Regions from separate parts of the Homo sapiens genome. Here region 1 is linked to region 2. Evidence: promoter capture Hi-C in 16 types of primary human blood cells and fetal thymus (Javierre and others, 2016). All regions are on one chromosome and are shown on one strand. Each heading gives the region's core, a stretch centred on a gene start or on the middle of the fragment in contact. The rest is flanking DNA. Distances are from core to core; before and after follow the strand shown.

What was found. The method cuts DNA at HindIII sites, captures the fragments that hold promoters and counts their contacts. A CHiCAGO score of 5 or more calls a contact.
Region 1: a contact is called between a fragment that was not itself captured here and the fragment with the promoter of C2CD2 in region 2, in 10 of 17 cell types (M1 macrophages, M0 macrophages, M2 macrophages and 7 more). The highest score is 9.4, in M1 macrophages.

The regions. Positions count from the first base shown.
Region 1 is chr21:42,123,342-42,127,002 of GRCh38, reverse strand. UMODL1 (uromodulin like 1) reads right to left here. Exons shown (of 23, transcript NM_001004416.3): 18 at 513-658. Among named protein-coding and RNA genes, the nearest start is that of UMODL1-AS1, 17 kb to the right of the region's middle. RefSeq lists enhancers at 705-1,476, 1,477-2,250, 3,578-3,661. The HindIII fragment of the contact is 185 bases long and covers 1,415-1,599 here.
Region 2 is chr21:41,952,026-41,955,585 of GRCh38, reverse strand. C2CD2 (C2 calcium dependent domain containing 2) reads left to right here and starts at 1,568. Exons shown (of 14, transcript NM_015500.2): 1 at 1,568-2,216. The coding sequence starts at 1,938. RefSeq lists a silencer at 1,276-1,945 and an enhancer at 1,822-2,596. The HindIII fragment of the contact is 8,952 bases long and covers 1-3,297 here.

The sequences.
Region 1 (3,661 bases), core at 258-2,757, 170 kb before region 2:
CAAGAGGAAGCAGCTTGCAGGAGGCATGTTTCAGGAGGCGCATTATCGTGGCCCCTCCCATTCCCACTTCTCCCCTAAAACACAGCTCCAGAGGAACGTGCAAATGAACGAGAAGACCCCCTCAACCCCAAACGAGAGCACTTGGAGGCCATTTATTCAGGGCTGGCTGGTCCAGGGGTTGCCTCCCTCAGTTGTATAGGTGGAGACTCAGTGGAAGGTGGGGGGTCCATTATAGAAAAAGTGGTGCCTGATGGAGGCTTGGGTGGCGGCCTGCCAGTGGCTCACTGGAAGTGGGGCCATCCCATGGGATTGGCCACGGGACATATTTGGCCTTCTCTGGCTAGCCCTGAGTGGGAAGAGGGAACAAAATTTGGGGAGCAGCCAGGCCACACCCATTTGTATATTCCATCTCAAGGAAGGGTCCTTAAGTGGTTGACACCCTAAAGAACTCTCAAAGCGCAGGTGGTCTGGAGGCACGTGGCTGTGGGGCAGCCGGGGCATTTCTCCCTTACCCCCACTCCAGGGTGAAGCCGGAGGATGTCAGCAGGTCATTCTGGAAGGCGCAGTAGATGGGGCTCAGGATCTTCAGGTGGTGGATGATGCCCTCCTGGGACAGGTCGTTCCTCAGCGTGGTCCTCACCACGGTGTTCGTCATGTTCTGAGCACAAAGCGGAGCATGAGGAGCTCCCAGGCCCCAGCCGGCCCCCCACGCCCTGCTGTGGGCCACGGCTCTAGGTGCTGGGGGGATGGGGGTTCTTCTCTAAAGCCTCTCCCCAGCAGCATCGAGATCCTGGCGATTCTCCCAACCATAAACTGCCTAAGAGCCTAAGGGCTCGGCCTCTGCTCATTCCCTATTGACCAGAGGAGGCAGCACCTGAACCTGTGGGGATTCCGTGGCAGCTGCACAAATAAGTCTTTCTGGGAAACTTAGTTTTTGACAAGTGTCAAAAACCGTCAAGAGCTCTTGTGGATTTCAGGGACTGGGTGAGTCATCAGAGACAAATTCCCTTTTCTTTCAACATGCCCCAAACCCTGCTGCATTTAATAATCAAGCCAAGCATTGGTCTGGTTCAGAAAAACACAGAGGGAGCTGCCGGCTGCAGGCTCTGCCCAGGGCCCCAGTCCTGGGAGGCGCTGTCTCTCCACTGGAGCTGCCGCTGTGTGGGTGGCGATCTGAGCACCAGGCAGGCTGTCCTGCACCCTCAGCCCCTCCACTTGGCCCCGCAGCCCTGCAAGAGCCCTGCATAGGCTTGAGGATGCCGCTGTGGCCCGGCCCACATGCACCTCTCACCCCAGACCTCCCTCACCAGGGAAACTGCCGAGAAGCCACAGGAGCCACTGATCACCGCCCATCCCCCTTGCAGACACCCCCCTGCTGCCAACGCTCGGCCTCCAGGTGGCCGTCTAAGAAGCTTTGAGGGAGAAAACTAATTCTGGGCAGTTCTGCTTAAGTTGTGCCATTTGAGGGGCTGAAGGGTGAGGAAGGTTTTGTAGCTGTTGAAACAGTGCAGGTTACTCCTTCAGCCCAGGGAGGATCTGAAGAGCCCCCGAGGGGGCGGAATGAGCTCGGCAGAGTGAGCTGTGCCTCCCAGGCAAGCTTGTGCTCTGCAATGGCCTCCGACGCGTCCACGTGAATCCCTCAGCTTCCTGGCCACCCTCAGTCCCAGCTCCAGGCTCCAAGCAGGCTCCACACCATGGAATCACCTTATGCCCCACCTCCCCACCTCATCCCTCAGCCCCTGGGGCTTTCTGGCCTCTGCTCCCCAGGGCTAGCTCCTTACTCAGCCCCAAGGTCCATGTCCCAGCCTCCTGCTCAGGACGTCCACCCGGTTCCCACTTTGTCGGCTCCCAGACATTGACACCCCATGCCAGGACTCTGGGTTTCATCTGACAGCTTTGACCCATCCAGTGCCAGAGGCCGCCCTGTCCCCACTAAGGAGTGTGTCCAGACCCCCAACCAGAAGCAGCACCCCCTCAAGGCTCCTCAAGAGGCAGAGCCACAGGGACGGGGCTGCTTCTCGGTGTCAGGTTGACTTTGACCCTGAACTCCCATGGACCCTGCCGAGCACCCAGGGCTCAGCCGCAGAGCGTGGATGATGATGCCTGACCCATGCGGTCGCTAAGGGACTAAACATCATCATGCATGTAGAACTCTCAGCCAAGCAGGTCCACGGTGGTTTCAGGGCACCACCCCAACCAATCCCTTTTTTTAGAATGCAATGCCTTGGACTGCTCAAAGGTCCTGAGGGACAGAAGCCCAGGGCCCAGAGTTCCCGCCAACGACCAGGAACCACCATTCCTGCCTAGCTCCCGATGAGGACAATGTCCCCATTAGGAGAGCCTTCTGGCCCTGGCTCCTAGGCCAGGCACTGCTCCCTGCTCAGCCCCATCCACAGCCCCACTTTCCCACCAGGCCTCATACCCCACCCTGCCCATGAGTGTCCACCCTTCCATCCCTGCCCACCTGACCAGAACCACTCGGACAGACTCTTAACTCCGCCATGGTTTCCAGCCTCCCTCATCTAGCCACCCCCGGCATGGCCCTTGGATACATTCACAGCTCTCTCACTCACCCTTGGAACGACGCTGGCCTCCTTTCTAGGTCGAGCCCCTTCCCAGAAGGCCACTTCCCCAACCCAGAGCCGGCACGGGCTCCCTCTGAAGCCGCCGGCCCCTCCAGGCAGCTTCCCTGATCCACCCTGCACTCCCAGGCCCATGCGGCCCAGGCCCCTGTGTCCAGTACCAGGCTGAGCTGGTGGAAGGTGCTGGCTCTCCCCTCCTCTTGTCCCCCAAGCAGGGCCCTGAACACGAAGCCTTTGTGCTCCATGTGGCCAAGTGGGGTTGGAGACGAACAAGGGCCTGCATGGGAGCGTTCGCTGTGACACAGAGGCACCCTGGGAAGAAGCAGGACCTGGAGCCAGGTCAGCTACCTCATGGGTGCCACACACTAGAGGCTCAGAGTAGACCCAGGACGCACTGGCCCAGAGTCACCTGCAAGGGGAGGTGCCAGAGCCCATCTGTGCACACAGAGGTGCGAAGGCCTCAGGCCAGGAAAACCCACTTTCCCCACCTGGGCTCCCTCTGTCCCGGGAGCCCCACAGCCCATCCAGGACCCTGAAATAGAGAATGTTCGCTAGGAACACAGTCCCTCCGACAGAGCAGTTCTGACTAATGCCATCCAATGCCCCCCAAACACACACCCATACATACACACTCACACATGGACAAACGCATCCACACATGCTCAACTCACGCACACATGCACACATGCACATAGACACATTCTCACATTCACACACTCACACATTCATACATGCATGCACACCCACACGCACACAAGCACGCGATACACATGCACACACACACGCACGTACATATAAGCACAGCCATGCATATACACATACACATTCGCACACACAGATTCACACATTTACACACATTCACACACATGCACACCCCCACATACACAGACATATTCAGACACATGCACACATGCACACACGTACACTCACACACACACACTCTCATATCACACAGGACTCCTTGGCTTTCCTGCCTCTTCCTGTCCCACTGCCTCTCATCCTGTCTGTGCAGGGAGGAGTTTTAAGCCGTGACTCTGAAGCCTGCCCCAGCACTCTGCACCAGAGTCCCTCCTGGGTGG
Region 2 (3,560 bases), core at 319-2,818:
AGGCCAAATGCTCAGTCTATCTAATTCCTTTCAAGGTCAAGTCCCCTTAATACAGCTGCAGAAAATAACAGGGGAATCACTTTTTTATGGTTTAGGCCTGTTTTAGGCCCCGGAGAATCTCAGGCTAGTATGTTTCTATGGCACTCCCTAAGGACCGCGTCCACTCTGCAAGAGGAGGGCACAGGGGCATGTCCCACACACCACACCACACACACACACACCATACCACATGCACCACACTGACACACCACCCACACACCACGCCACATGCACCGCACTCACACATTACACATACACACACTCCACATCCATGTACCACACATACACACACCACCGTGTTCACCACACACACAAACCACACCACATGCAACGCACTTACACAATACATATACACACAGCACCACACCACACCCATGTGCCACACACACACGCTCACATCACCCTGTGCACCACACACACACGCACCACACTGACACACCACATACATACACCACACCACATCACACATACACACCACACACACCACATGCACCACACACACACACCACATGCTGTGCACTTACACATCACACGTACACACACCCATGCACCACACCGACACCACACACGCACCACACCACATGCACCACGCTTACACATCACACACACACACCACACACACACACCACACACACTGCACTTATACATCACACATACACACCCATGCACCACCATACACACTCGCACCATCCTGTGCACCACACACCACACACATACACCACATGCTGTGCACTTACACATCACACGTACACACACCCATGCACCACACCGACACACCACACACGCACCACACCACATGCACCACGCTTACACATCACACACACCACATGCACCACACTGGCACGCAACACACATACCACACCACATGCACCACGCTTACACACACACCACACCCATGCACCACACATACACACTCACACCATCCTGTGCACCACACACCACACCCACAACACATCACACCACATGCGCCACACACATCACACCACATGCACCCCCGCCCCACCCGCACACTGAATGAATGACACAGCCACACAGAAGGCAGGGCCTGGGCCTGGTGCTGAGCCCCTCCTTGCCTCTGAGAAGCACGCCCCCTAAGGCAGGCCCAGCCCCTGGCTCCAGGGGCAGCCACGGATTTCCAGGGACTTTCCGAGGACTGAGCCTGGATCCTGTCTCGCTGGCGAGCAAATGGCAGTCCTCGAAATCACCCTGACTGCGCGCTGTGCACACGCACACTCACACATGTGCACACACACGCACTTGTGCAAGCGCGCACACGAGCCAAGCCAAGCAGCCGCACAGCAGCCGCCGGGGTTGGGCTGATGAATCCGGAGGCCCGGGTCACCTCGCGGCCCGCGGGCAGGCGCCGGAGGGGCGGGCGACGCGCGCACGTGGCGGGGCCGGGAAGGCCGGGCCTTTAGGGGGGCGGGGGCACGCCGCGTTGGGAGCAGGGGGGAGGACTGCGGCCCCCGCAGGCCCGGCCGCGCCCCCTCCCTCGGGCACCGCCCCCGCCCCGCCCCGCCCCGCGGCCAGAGCCTCCTCCGGCCACCGCTGGGCCGCGGGCGGGACGCCCGGGGCGGCGCGCGCAGGAGGAAGCGCGGCCCGCAGCGGCCCAGGAACTTCCCAGACGCCGAGTCGGGAGCGCGGGCCGCGGGGTCCGCTCGCGCCCCTGTTCCGCAGGTGTGCGGGGCTTGCGCCCAGCCCGGGCCGCGGCCGCCGCGCGTTTCCTCCCCGCTTGCCCGCCCAGAGGCCCCCGGCCACGCTCCTCGCCGGGCTCCGACCCCGCCGCGCCCCCTCCACGCCCCCAGCGCGCTGTGGCCGCAGCCAGCGCGTGTCCTGAGTCCGCCGTTCCGGCCCGGGGCTGCCGGGGAAGTTGGGGCGAGGCGGGCCGGGGATGCGCCATGGCCATGGCCCGGCTGGGCTCGTGGCTCGGGGAGGCGCAGTGGCTCGCGCTGGTGTCGCTCTTCGTCGCGGCCCTGGCCACGGTAGGCCTGTACCTGGCGCAGTGGGCGCTGGCCAGGGCGCGACCCCAGCCCCAGCGGCGGGCGGTGGAGCCTGGAGAGGGGCCGCGCCCGGGGTCCGACGCGCTGCTCTCCTGGATCCTGACGCTGGGCAGCTGGAGGAGCCAGTGGCAGGCGGCCTGGGTGACCGCCCTGAACGAGGAGGCCGAGAGGAAAGGGGTGAGTTTCCGGGACTGCGGGCCGGGGGGCGGCAGATGCCGGGGCGGGCGGTCCGGGCCGAGGTCTTTCCTGGAGGCGTCGCTGCAGCCCCTGACCCAGGCTAAGGGAGTCCTCCCCCCAGCGCAGACCATCCTCGAGAGTTAGGAGAGAGACGGGGGAGCGAGGCCCCTTGACGGAGAGACAAGACAAAGTGATTGATTTTATTCTCCAAACGGCAGGTGCTCCAGGCCCTGGGCTCCGCGAGGGACAGGCTGGCAGTTGGAGGGACCGTCAGAAGTGCTCATCCGCGCCAGCCAGTACCTGCCTTGCCTGGAGTCCCGGGGCGAATTCCCGTGCCCGATCGGACACTTACTGAGCTTGCACATGATACATGAATAGCTGTGACCCCAATGTGCTTCCGCCTCTCATAGAGCTGAATTTCACCAAGAATTTATCTCCAAAGACTTGCATTTCTTGGCATATAAAAATAGTGACCGTTTGCTGAGGGCCAGCCGCTGGGCAGACATCCTACCGAGGCTTTCGGTGCGTCTGCCATCTCTGAATCCTCACAACTCCCGGGACAGGGGTGTTATCACTGTTTTACAGATGAGGAAACCAAGGCCCGGAGAGGGCAAGCAGCCTGCCCAGTGCCACACAGCTCGTGGGCGGCAGAGCTGGCATGTGAATCCAGCTGCCCTGGCCTGCAAGCTAAGGGCCTCGTGTCTTACCTCTGCTGCCTCACAGTCCTGTGGGTGTTTCTGTAGTCGCTGATTACTCGTTGACTTATTTTTGCTTTTAAGACATCTTAGTATAACGACAAGCTCCTGGCATGTACTATTCTTAGGCATTTCACAGGAGAAGTTGGAGCCTGGGTGGGTTTGGGGAGGCACCCCTAGTCTTGGCCGCTGCTCCGCCCTTCCAGGCCACAGTTTCCTGCACATGCCTGTGCAGCTCAGTGGTCATTCGCTGTGGAAATAGCAGAATTGCTCATTTTCAATGTCCGGCCCCATCAACCTTCAAAATATTCCATGGCGGGCCCTGTGCCTGGTCCTTGTGCATGGCCTTGGAAGACATGGCCATGGAATTAAAAAACAAAAAAGCTTTGACTATCAGTTAGCAGCCATCCAACAAATCAAGAGACCTTGTTTTGAACTCTTGAAAAAGAACATAAATGACTGTACTTTTTGGAGGAAAAAGGCTTCAGGGTCAGTTGACTGACTTTTGTCCTGGTGCCCAGAATCTGTGCCTCAGCTGTCCAGAGCTGGAGAGTGTCTCAGGGAAACCAGCTGTCTCTTGTGGGAGCCCTCCACCCCTGTTGGCCTCACATCCAGGAGCAAATGCAGGTATTTCCCCAGGAAGCTGCCA